Regions from separate parts of the Homo sapiens genome. Here region 1 is linked to region 2. The links are contacts of gene promoters, found by promoter capture Hi-C in blood cells and fetal thymus (Javierre and others, 2016). All regions are on one chromosome and are shown on one strand. The core of a region is centred on a gene start or on the middle of the fragment in contact, and the rest is flanking DNA. Distances in the headings are between cores, read along the strand shown.

Evidence for each region. Contacts are between HindIII fragments. The CHiCAGO score rates a contact against its expected background, and 5 or more counts as called.
Region 1: a fragment that was not itself captured here is called in contact with the fragment with the promoter of ADAMTSL2 in region 2 in 4 of 17 cell types (fetal thymus, activated CD4 T cells, naive CD4 T cells and 1 more); the score reaches 6.7 in fetal thymus.

Annotation. Positions count from the first base shown.
Region 1 is chr9:133,717,975-133,723,977 of GRCh38, forward strand. It overlaps SARDH (sarcosine dehydrogenase), which reads right to left. Exons shown (of 21, transcript NM_001134707.2): 7 at 964-1,068. Among named protein-coding and RNA genes, the nearest start is that of SARDH, 17 kb to the right of the region's middle. The HindIII fragment of the contact is 3,555 bases long and covers 1-3,419 here.
Region 2 is chr9:133,530,794-133,537,234 of GRCh38, forward strand. It overlaps ADAMTSL2 (ADAMTS like 2), which reads left to right and starts at 3,911. Exons shown (of 19, transcript NM_014694.4): 1 at 3,911-4,124; 2 at 5,770-6,009. The coding sequence starts at 5,920. RefSeq lists a silencer at 2,428-2,517 and enhancers at 2,776-3,317, 3,318-3,857, 3,858-4,399, 4,940-5,481, 6,022-6,441. The HindIII fragment of the contact is 12,534 bases long and covers 18-6,441 here.

The sequences.
Region 1 (6,003 bases), core at 392-2,891, 180 kb after region 2:
TAAAGGATATCCTTCTGCTCCAGTCTCTCTAGGCTGATCCTTAACCTGCTAATTTTATTCAGTGCGCGATCATCTTCCAGAATTTCATTCCTTGTTCATTTGTTTGTTTGTTTGTTTGTAACAGTCTCACTCTGTCACCCAGGCTGGAGTAAAGTGGTGCGATCTCGGCTCACTGCCACCTCCATCTCCCGGGTTCAAGTGATTCTCCTGCCTCAGCCTCCCAAGTAGCTGGGATTACAGGTGCCCGCCACCACACCTGGCTAATTTTTGTATTTTTAGTAGAGTTGGGATTTCACCATGTTGGCCAGGCTGGCCTCAAATTCCTGACCTCAGGTGGTCCGCCCACCTCAGCCTCCCAAAGTGCTGGGATTACAGGTGTGAGCCACCGTGCCCAGCCATTTGTTTGTTTATTGTATGTCTCTCCACCAAAATATAGGCACCCAGAGTCAGGGACTTTTATCTTAGTTTCCCTCTTTCTCCAGAAATTAAAGCAGTTTTTAGCCCAAAGTAGCCACTCAGTCGTTCCATGTGTGGACTAAATGCATATACACATAGAACAGGGCTGCAGGGCTGCCCTAACCCCAGAAGCTGCCCGGGAAACAGCCCAGGCCAGGGGAAATGCCGCTGCAGCAGCTGGTTGGGAGGGCAGTGTCATTTGCTGAAGGACGTAGGACTTGTGTGCTCTCATGCCCTTCTGAGGTCATCACTCCACACTGCGCAGACCTTCTCTGTGGATGTTTTGAGGCAAAGCCCTCCAGCTGCCCTGGGTCTGTATTTGACTGCCTGCCAGGACCGTCAGGGTAAGAGCAAGATGGCTTTGAGCTTGGTGGGGTCAGGGGACCGGCCACTTCTCAGGTGTGCCTCTGAGGAGCTTCAGGAGGATGGACTTCCTGAAAGAGGCCCTCTCCATGCTGAGATGCAGCCCCAACTCCCTCCCATTATCCCAGGGCCCTGGCATCTTACCTCCTCCCAAAAGATGGGGTTGGCCTCATAGCCACCCACAGACAAGGCATCCCCTTGGAGGCGGAGGTAGACAGAGGCATCATGATCACGGACATTGGGCATGTTCTGGAAGGCAGAGAGAGAGGCCTTGGCATCATCCAGAACTGGGTGGGGACTTGGTTCCCCATGCCCCGTGGTGGGCCAGCACCTCCACCCAGGGTCACGGGCTCGAGATGGTCCTTCTCGTTGTAGGACCCCGAGGACAGAGTGGACACGGGGCCTCAAGTTACACACAGTGAATGGGTCACTGCCATTCAAGCCTCTCCTTCCCCAAATCCCATAAAATAACAGCAAAAGGGGAAGAAGGAAGAAGGAATGGATCGAGGAAGAGAGCAAGGGAGGAAGGGAGGGAAGCAAAACATATAACCGACAAAGATGAGAGAACAGGCAGAGGCAGCAGTAGAGGATGGGAGATTCCAACCAACCCTGGAGGACGCAGAGTGGATGGAGGAGGGGTGAGACTTAGCTGGGGCTGGAGGAGAGGGAGACTGAGCAAGGCAAGCCAGTGTGCCCCTCCTGCCTCCTCTTGAATCTTCAGAGCCACCCCAGGTCCCTCTTCAGGGGGTGATGCGCTTGCTCATGTATGGAAGGATCTTCCTCTGGAGAGGTGGGTCCTGAGAGGCTCCAGAAGTGGGGAGAGTGGACTGCCATCCCCCCACCCCCCCACCCCAGGAGCAGATTGGAGACTCTTCTGTGAGACACTGAGAGGCCCAGGGAAGGCTTGAGATGTTGACACCAGGGTCTCTCTAAAAGCGAAAGGCTTGCCGCCCACCCTTCCTGAGAGGCTCTCCAGTCCTCCCCTCCAAGCCTCCAATCACACTGCTGCTCACTCTCTCCTAAAAACAAAACCACAGGCCAGGCACGGTGGCTCACACCTGTAATCCCAGTGCTTTGGGAGGCCAAGGCAGGCAGATCACGAGGTCAGGAAATCAAGACCATCCTGACTAATATGGTGAAACCTCGTCTCTACTAAAAATACAAAAAATTAGCTGGGCGTGGTGGCGGGCGCCTGTAGTCCCAGCTATTCGGGAGGCTGAGGCAGGAGAATGCGTGAACCCAGAACGTGGTGCTTGCAGTGAGCCGAGATCGTGCCACTGCACTCCAGCCTGGGTGACAGAGCAAGACTCCGTCTCAAAATAAATAAATAAATAAATAAAACAAAACCACAGGCCAGGCACTGTGGCTCACACCTGTAATCCCAGCACTTTGGGAGGCCGACATGGGTGAATCACCTGAGGTCAGGAGTTCAAAATCAGCCTGGCCAACATGGTGAAACCCCATCTCTACTAAAAATACAAAAAATTAACCGGGCGTGGTGGTGGGCAGCTGTAATCCCAGCTACTCAGGAGTCTGAGACAGGAGAATGGCTTGAACCTGGGAGGCGAAGGTTGCAGTGAGCCAAGATTGCACCATTGCACTCCAGCCTGGGCAACAAGAGTGAAACTCTGTCTCATAAATAAATAACCACAAACCACAACAAGAACATCAGGAATACAAGAAGATGGTGTATTAGTGTGTTCTCACGCTGCTAATAAAGACATACCCAAGACTGGGTAATTTATACAGGAAAGAGGTTTAATGGACTCACAGTTCCACATGGCTGGGGAGGCCTCACAATCATGGTGGAAGGCAAATGAGGAGCAAAGGCATGTCTTACATGGCAGCAGGAAAGAGAGAGAGAGCATGTGCAGGGGAACTCCCTTTATAAAACCATCAGATCTCCTGAGACTTATTCCCTACCATGAGAACAGTATGGGGGAAACCACCCCATGATTCAATTATCTCCACCTGGCCCCACCCTTGACACATGGGGATTATTACGATTCAAGGTGAGCTTTGGGTGGGGACACAGCCAAACTGTATCAGAGTGACAGACAGTGCTATGAGAAAGGAATCTAAGATGAAGAAAGAGGTCTTTAAATGAGATATGATAGTCAAAATTTAAAATTCAATGGAAGGGCCAGATAAGGCTGGGGCCATCATCCAGCGATTAGGCTAAAAGAAAAAGACAACAAAACAGAAATCAGGAGTGGAAAAAAAATAAGAATATCAGAAGGTCCGTCTTGAAAGTTCAACATCCATTTTACAGCGGTTCCAGAAAGAGAAGACAGAGAAAAATGGAGTCGAGAAAAATGTCCAAGCAACAGCCCAAGAAGAGTCCTCCGATTGAAAATCACGCATTCATATGGAAGGGCCCAAGAGTGCCCACCAAGCCCTGAGTCTGGACAGAGGCCTGCACCAAGGCCACGCCGTGGGAAACATCACAACACCGGATGGCCAGGAGGGCCATCAACAGGGGACTGCATCGCTGGAGGCTGGAAGACATGGAGCAAACTCTTCAAACGTCTAATGGATGATTTTCAACACAGAATTCTAGATCCTGTCAAGCCATCAATCGAGTGTAAGCAAAGAATAAAAGCTTTTTCAGACATTCATGGACACAAAACATATACTTCTCTCGTACTCCTTTGCAGTAAACAGCCAGAGAACACGCTGTGACAAAAGGAAGAAAATAAACCCAGAAAGAGTGAAAGCCATGGCTCCAGCGGGGAGGCGTGAAGAAGGCCCTGGAGTGACAGCTTAGACCATGCAGCGGTCAGTCCAAAAGGGAGCGGAAGATCTGAAGGCAGCAGGAAGTCCTCCAGGGGAGGGAAATGGGACTTGGGGGCGTTAGGTGGTTTATCTGATGTGTGTGCGTATTCAGAAAATAGTATCAATAGTATCAATATGTTTGACAGATCCCTTGACACAACTGGGGAAAAATAGTGACAGTTATATATACACATGCAAATACCCCCAACAAAACAATAGCAAACTGAATCCAGCAATATATAAGAGAGATGATACACCATGGCCAGACTGGACGTGGTGGCTCATGCCTGTAATCCCAGCACTTTGGGAGGCCAAGGCGGGAGGGTCATTTGAGGTCAGGAGTTCGAGACCAGCCTTGGCAACATGGTGAAACCCCAACTCTACTAAAAATACAAAAATCAGCTGGGTGTCGTGGCACATGCCTGTAATCCCAGCTACTCAGGAGTGGAGGCAGGAGAATTTGCTTGAACCCAGGAAGCGAAGGTTGCAGTAAGCCAAGATCACACCACTGCACTCCAGCCTGGGCAACAGAGTCTCACTCTGTCTCAAAAACACAAAACAAAACAAAACAAAACACCATGGCCAACTGGAATTTATCCTAGGAAGGCAAGTTTGGTATAATGTATGAAAACCAATCAATAGAATACCCCACATCAACAAAGTACAGGACAAAAACCACGTAATCATCCCAGTAGATGCATGAGAAGCATTTGACAGAATCCAACATCTTTAATGATTTTTTTTTTTAAAGCCTCAACAAACACTTAACAAACTTGGAAGAAGGGAACTTCCTCAAAGTGCTGAAGGGTATCTACAAAAACCCACATGGAATGTGATACTTCAAGGAAGAAGGATGGCTGATTTCCCCCCAAGATCAGGAATTAGAGAAAGATATCCATTCTTACCCCTTCTACCCAACATTACATTGGAGGTTTTAGCCAGGGCAGCAATTAGGCAGCAAAAGTAATAAAAGGCACCCAGATTGAAAAAGAAGAAGTAAAAATATTCCTATTTGCAGATAACAAGGTCTTGTATATACAAAATCCTAAGGAAACCACTAAAAAACTACTAGCGCTCTCTCTCTCTCTCTCTCTCTCTCTCTCTCTCTCTTTCTCTCTTTCTTTCTGACAGAGTCCTGCTCTATCGCCCAGGCTAGAGTGCAGTGGTGCCATCTCAACTCACTGCAACCTGCACCTCCTGGGTTCAAGTGATTCTCCTGCCTCAGCCTACCGAGTAGCTGGGACCATGCCTGACTAATTTTTGTGTTTTTAGTAGAGACAGGGTTTCACCATGTTGGCCAGGCTGGTCTTGAACTCCTGACCTCAAGCAATCCACCCACCTCAGCTTCCCAAAGTGCTGGGATTATAGGCATGAGCCACTGGGCTCAGCCAAAAAACTAATATATTTCTATACTCTAGCATTGAATAATCTGAAAAGGAAGTTAAGAAATAATTTCATTTACAATATCATCAAAAATAATAAATATGCTTAGGAACAAATTTGACAAAAGAATTGCAAAACTTGTACTCTAAAAACTAGAAAATACTTTCGAAAGAAATTAAAGAAGACCTAAATAAATAGAAGGACATCTCACGTTCATGAAATGAAAGACTTATTTTTGTTAAGCTGACAACACACCCCAAATTGATCCATAGCTTCAACACAATGCCTGTCAGAATCTCAGCTAGTTTCTTTGAAGAAATTAAATAGCTGACCCTAAAGTTCATACAGAGATGCAAGGGACCAAGAATACCCAAAACAATTTTGAAAAGGAAAAACAAAGTTGGAGGATTCACACTTCTTGATACCAAACTTACTGCAAAGCTACATAATCAAGACAGTGAGGTACTAAGTAAGGATAGACCTACAGATCAATGGATTAGAATTGAGAGTCGAGAAATAAACCTTCTTCTGCCAGGCATGGTGGCTCACGCCTGTAATCCCAGCACTTTGGGAGGCCAAGGCGGGTGGATCACAAGGTCAGGAGATCGAGACCATCCTTGCTAACGTGGTGAAACCCTGTCTCTACTAAAAAATACAAAAAATTAGCCAGGCGTGGTAGCAGGCACCTGTAGTCCCAGCTACTCGGGAGGCTGAGGCAGGAGAATGGCATGAACCCAGGAGGCAGAGCTTGCAGTGAGCAGAGATCACACCACTGCACTCCAGCCTGGGCAAAAGAGCGAGACGCTGTCTCAAAAAAATAAAATAAAATAAATAAACCTTCTTCTTCAGAGTCAATTGATTTTCAGCAAGGGTGCTAAGACAATTCCTTGGGGGAAGCAGACTTTGTAAAAAATGTTGCTGGGCCAACTGGATAGCCACATGCAAAAGAATGCAGTTGGACCCCTACCTCACACCATGCACAAAATTTAACTTGAGATGGATTACAGGCATAAGTATAAGAGCTAA
Region 2 (6,441 bases), core at 2,661-5,160:
AAGCTGAGGCACAGAGAAGCTTCTGCCCTCGCCCAAAGTCACCCAGCTGGAGAGAGACGGAGTCAGGATTTGAACCCAAAGAGTCCGGTTCCAGGCACTCACGCGTGAGGCTGCTGTTGCTGTGCTATTGGAAGAGCTGCTGCTTCCTATGCTGAGCCTCCACGCTAAGCCTCTGAGACGGGGCCCTTCTGAGTGTCGGGATCCAAGGTCCTGGGTTTCCTGCTTCACCTGGCTGTGACACCAGTGGCTGCCCGCCCCTGGTCACTGTGGGTGGCATGGAAGAAAGAGCTCACTGGCTTGGTGATGTCCTCCTGCCCCCAGCAGATATCCCTGACACGGGGCATCTCTGGAGGTCATGGCCGTGTGCGAGCAGAGCCCGAGGGGCTGCTGGGGGCTGGGGTTCTTCCGGTCCGCCAGCTTTCAGATGATGCTTCCAGGAGTCCTGGTGCCCAGAAGGGGCCTCAGGGCTGCTGGGGAGAAGAGGGGAAGCAGGAGCCCCCACCTCTGCTTTTGTCTCAGTTGTCTCTTGAGTGTGCCTGTGAGATGTCTGGGGCTAAAAAAGGACCTTGACCTTGTGCAACAGACCAGGAAACTCGGCCTGTCAGGGACAAGTGGCCTGAAGTGACCTGGCCAGCCAGTGGTCGTGCATGGACCTGGGACCAGCCAGGGAAGGCGGGGGAGGCTCTTCCCGTATATCCAGCCCCAGGGGGGTCTCAGGGACAGCTGGCTTCTATCCTGGGCCAGGAAGGAAGCTCGGGGACAGGGACGGCTCTTGGGGTTGCTGAGGCCCCCTCGCTCTTTCCCTGGGGCTGCCTTCTGAGTCCTGGTCCTCTTCCGGGGCTGCCAGCCACCTCCCAGCTGGCCACATGGTCCCTTGGTGGCCCCGTCCCAGTCAGGTGTGAGAACTCTGGCTGGGTCTGCCCAGGAGGCTCCTAGGATGTTCTGGGTCCTGGGCTGGCAACAGAGAAGAACCGCAGGATGCCAGGGAAGGTGGTATTGGTGGGCCACTCTTGAGGCTGTGGCCGGCCAGCCCTATCGGCTAGGTGAACCACACTACACACATACATTTGCCAGGCCTGCTAGGCCTCTGGGTGACAGAGAGGGGACCCACCTCGACAGCTCGGGCCACGTCCTTAAACTCCCGAGCCTGCTGTGGCCACTTTGCTGTGAGGACAGGCCCTGCTCCCACTGCGGCAGCCTAACATCCTCCCCAGGGAACCTCCAAAGTGGTCAGCCACGGCCCACCAGCCCCTCTGCCTCAAGCCTGCTTCTCTATCCCCGCCGTGTTTTCCCTGGAACCCCACCCTCCCGGGCATCCCCCACACATATTCCTGCTGTCCTATTTCTAAGCTCCTCAGATATCTGGAAAACACTGGCGGAGAAAATCCCCTTCTTTTTTTTCTCTCTCTTTTTTTCTTTTTGAGACGGAATCTCACTCTTTCACCCAGACTGGAGGGCAGCGGCGAGATCTCGGCTCACTGCAACCTCCACCTCCCAGGTTCAAGCAATTCTCCTGCCTCAGCCTTCCGAGTAGCTGGGATTACAGGTGCCCGCCACCACGCCCAGCTAATTTTTGTATTTTTAGTAGAGACAGGATTTTACCATGTTGGCCATGCTGGTCTCAAACTCCTGACCTCGTGTGATCCCCCTGCTTCAGCCTCTCAAACTGCTGGGATTATAGGCATGAGCCACTGCGCCTGGCCAACAATCCCCTTCTAAAGGCAGGTGGTGTCTCCAGCACCAGGGCCATACGGCTGCAACACCCCTACAAGTGCCGGTAGGTGTGGGCTGAGACCATCCTACATGGGGAAGGCCCTGAGAGGCCGGGAATTTGCAGGCCGAAGAGGGATCCTGGAGAGTGGGGGACTCACCTCAACAGCACTCTCTAAGGGGTAAGGAGCCCCTGGCATCAGGAGCTACCAGAGCACCTGCTACGTGCCAGTCATGGCTCCCTGTGGGCCTCAAGTCTGCAGGCTCTGGGGTAAGGGGTGGGGGTGGTGTGGAAGTGTGGCTGGCCAGGGGAGCTGGGGCCTGGAGGGTCACACACCTGCAGGAGGTCACAGAGCCAGGGGATGGCTGGCCCCACAGACCCGTCTCCCAGGTGGCCAGCCTGCAGCCTGTGCCGTCCTGCTGAGCCAAGAGAAGACACTGGGGGTGTTTGTGTTGGTCGGCTGTGGGGTCCCTCCCAAGGGAAACCGTTAGTCACCCTGGCGCTGGCTGGATGTGAGGCCACAAACGCCAGGAGAGCTCGGGGACTGTGCCAAGGGGTGCGAGGCCTGGCGGTCACCAGAAGAGAGAGGAAGGGGATGGCAGAGGCACCCAGAGCGAGTGTAATCCGGTCATGTGAGAGGGACTGGGTGTGTGTGTGCCTGTGTGTGTGTGTGTGTGTGTGTGTGTGTGTGTGCTGGGTGACAGGTGCCACCATGTCTGTGATTCAGCACAGCGACCCCAGGGGGCAGTGTGGGCCTGGGTTAGGGTTAGGGTTAGTCCTGGTTCCACACCGCAGGTGGCCCTGTGACTAGGAGCAGCCACCTTGCATCCCAGTTGCCCCAGCAGGAGAATGAGATGAATAAGACTTGCCTGCCCGAGGGTCCCGGGGAGAGAAACTTAAACAACCCGGCAGAGGAGAGAACCCGACACTCAGGAGCGCTGGCATCCCAGCCTTGCCTACTGGAGAGGTGACTTGGTCCCCGAACCTCAGTTCTTCCACCTGTGAAATGCAGATCATAAAGGTGGATCTGGCCTCACAGCTCTGGGCCCGTAGGACAAGCTGGACAGAGGGCAGACGGTATTATCGCTTTCACTACTATTACTGGTGGCTTTCCTTCCCAGCCTTTCTGGTGGGTGGTCAGACACAGGGCAGAACTTTCTCATGAAGGCAGCTGAAGGAACTCACAAGTTTCTTCCAGCAGGGAGGACAGAGGGAAGGAGAAGTGTCTTCCCGGCACTGCTGTGGGCCCAGGACATCTGCTGCATGGAGGCAGGGGCATGGATGAAAAGACACAGATGACCTGATGGAATGGTGCCCCAGCTTCCTCCTCCTCCCCTTTTTGGAGGTGCCTCTGTTTGCCGAGGATGGGCTCTGGGGAAGCTGGTGTGCAGAGGCTAGGTGCCCAGCCTTGCTTTAGGAAAGCCTCACAAAGTCTGGGGCCCGCCGGGAGTTTCCCAGGGGGGCTCTGCTGCTCCACCCACTCTCGCTCCCCTCTGTGCCCTGACTCAGCAGGAACAGAGGCTTGAGCTCCAGGCCTGGCCTGCCAGGGGCTGCCAAGTTGGTGCTGGACATCTGCAGAATCCCTGAGCCTCTCTGCCCTGGCCCTGGCTGCTCTAGCCATCTGGTCAGCAGGCCACGGGCACATCTGTCTCCTCCCTGGAGCCCTTGGTTCATTCTCGCTGGGTCTCCCTGCGTCCCTCCACCTGCTTAGGCCCCTGCATCTCGGGAGCTTTCTGAGGCTCGTGACCTGGGGCACGGTCGTCCCGGAAGTTCAGCCTTTCCCTCCGTACAACGGAGCCATCAGACGGGACACCTCATACATCCCAGACCCCATTCTCAGGAGCCCCAGGGACAGGGCCCGCTCTGGAGGCAGAAGCCGGACAGGCGGGGCTGGGGCTTTGCCACCGCCAGCCTCCCCGGTAACCTCAGGCCAGCGGCTGCTCCGTCTGGACACCCGACATGTGGCCCCCAGTTCTGGACCCGGGAAGAAGGCCTCCCTGCTCGCCGCTCCTGGGCCGCCGCCGCCGGCAGCAGCCAACAGGCAGCTGGGCCGGCCTGGCCGGGCTCCAGAGGCGCAGAGCGGGTTAAAGTGTGCGCCAGGCCGGCCGGCGCGGGCGGGGGAGCGGCCTGGTGGGAAGTGTGAGTGTTCCTCCCCGTCTGCCTGACAGCTATAAAGGCGGCCGCCGGCGCAGAGCCGCCACTGGGCTGCGCCCCTCCCGGGAACCCCCTCTCTTGGATGCTCTTTGAAGTGGGAGAGGGAGGCGGCGCGGGGGAGGAGGGGAAGGGGAGAGGGAGGCCGGGCCGCAGCCTCTGCACTCACGCCGCCCCCGCACGCACAGCGCACCTGGCGCCGTCTGCCCTCCGCAGCGCTCGCCCCTTTCTCTGGGAGGACAACCTGCTGACCCGAAGCCAGGTAGGCCACCTCGTCCCCGTCCCCCTCACGTTGCAGCGTCCACCAGGCCAGCCCACTGCTCAGAGTGGGGCTGGGGGTAGGAGCACCCCGCGCCCTCTGGAGCCGTTACATAACGTGGGGAGGCTTGTGGGGAGGGGTCGGGCCGCAGAGCACGGGGCAGGGTGGCCTCCCAGCACCTAGCCTTGTGCGCCCGGAGCTCTGTGTGCACGGCAGACCTCTCTGCTGCCGCCAGCCGCTGCTTTTGGACCCCAGGGAGGGATGGATCCCCGTGAGCGAGGCCTGGCCAGAAGCCAGTGGTGTCTGGAAGCCTTAATGAAAAAAGCAAGTGTGAGGCCGGCTGGCACCTGTCTTCAGCCGGCAGGCAGAGGCTGGGGCACCCGTTAGCCAATGGCACAGTGGAGGGGGCTCCTGTGGGTGTGAGGCTGAGAGTGCAGATGGAGGTCTGCAGGGGAGGGAGGTGGGGGGCAGGCGGCGGGGGCAGGGGAGGTCAGACTCAGGCTCCCCACTCCAGGGTGCACTGCTGCGTCGTCCGGGCTGCAGTGGTGTCCTTGGAGTGGCCCCTGAAAATCTGCAGGTGCCGGGCCTGCAAGGAAACTCTTCAAGTTGGATGGAGGCTGCTGAGGAGGGAGGGGCAGAGCCCGAGTTGGCCTCTGGCCTGGCAGGGGTGAGGGGTGACCTCCATGCCTTCTTCCCCTGGAATTGGCCAGGCGTGGGGGTCGAGTCCCTGAGTTTGCTAGTGTGCTACCTTGCTGTGTGGCTTTGAGCAGGTTGGCTCCCCTCTCTGGGCTCCAGGTTATGAGTGCAGGCTGCGTGGTTTCTGAAATCCCTTCTCTAACTCGCTGGCAAGTGACCCTCAGCACCTGAGCAAGGCCTGGACAGAGGTCATGGTGGATCTCTGGTCTTCCCTTCCACAGGGCAGGGTCGACGCTGAGGAGGGGGTGGGGAGAGCTGAGGGCCTGGAGGCTGGACAGTCCCTTCCAATGGGCTTGCTTTGACCCCTGGCAGGTGTTTTGAGCCAAGGGTGCTGGCTGTTGGGAGGAAGTCAGCCTTGTGGCCCTGGACTGCTGACATGCTGGCACAAACTGCACCTCCTCCTGCCCTGCCCCTCCCCCAATTCCATCTTCTCTCCGGGGATCGGGAGGCGGCATAGGTACCTGGGTTCTGCCTCACCTGAGTGCCGGCTGTTGCTGGATGCTGACTGTGGAGCTGCTGGTCTAGGGCGAGGCTGCACATTCCCCCGGGACCTGGCCAAGCCCATCCCCATGCACTGACCCTAGCAGCCAGTGGCAGAGGCCATTCTCCTGCGAGGCCAGCAAGAGCTGAGCCAGTTAAAATCCCAAGGTGCTCCTGCCAAGGCGCTGGACTGAGCCCAGGCCCATCCCTTCGAACCAGAGCCTTTCCCCCCGCCTGGGTCCCCAGCCCCCTCAGCCGAGGCTGGCTGTCTCCACAGCCCTTCTCTAGGGGGCTTGAGGACTTGGAGGCAAAGCATGGCATGCTTCCCTGCATGCCCTTGGATCAAGGGTGGCACAGGCTTAGCACGCACACCGCCGCTGGGTGTCTTGCCTGAAGCAGGCATTACTAATCATTCACCAAGCTCCTTCTTGCTAAGCCTAGACTGAGGCGGGGGGTTCATCCTTCCCAACAGGGTCTGCCAGACAACCACGACCAACTAGTCCCAGATAACCTTGAGGCCTGGGCACTGGCTGGGCCCCGAGGGCTCTTCCCAAAGCGTACCCTGGTCATCTGGAAGAGGATCGGAGCTGGCCTGGTGGTGACAGTGGCCTTGCTTCCTAGGATGGATGGCAGATGGCAATGTTCCTGCTGGGCCTGGTTCCTGCTGGTTCTGGCAGTTGTAGCTGGGGACACAGTGTCAACCGGGTCCACGGTGAGTGGGGTGTTGTGGTCTGAGGGCCCATGCCAGTCCCCTACCCAGGTGCTGTGATCACTCTCAGATGGACTGGCTTGGAGGGAGCCGTGTGGGCACGTGCCCCAGGTCCCAGAACCCATCTTGGCTCCTAGAAACTTCTGCCCAGAGCCAGTCAGATCAGCCTCTGAACTGGGGCCCTGGCTACTGTGGAGCCCCTGGCGACTTGGCAGGCGAGGGCTGAGGGGGCTGAGTGCTTCCCTTCCAAGTGAAGGCCCCAGCACGGCCAGGGTAGGCTGTGTCCTGCAGAACGCAGTTGGGCCCTGAGCTGCTCCGGGGAAAGTGAGGACAGTTAGATGCGGCCCCAGGAGCTTGCCAAGCCCCCAGGCCATCCTGGACCTTAAGGTCAAGGAGGACCCGTGGCCCACGGTTCCTTGGGAGTTCCCCCCAGCG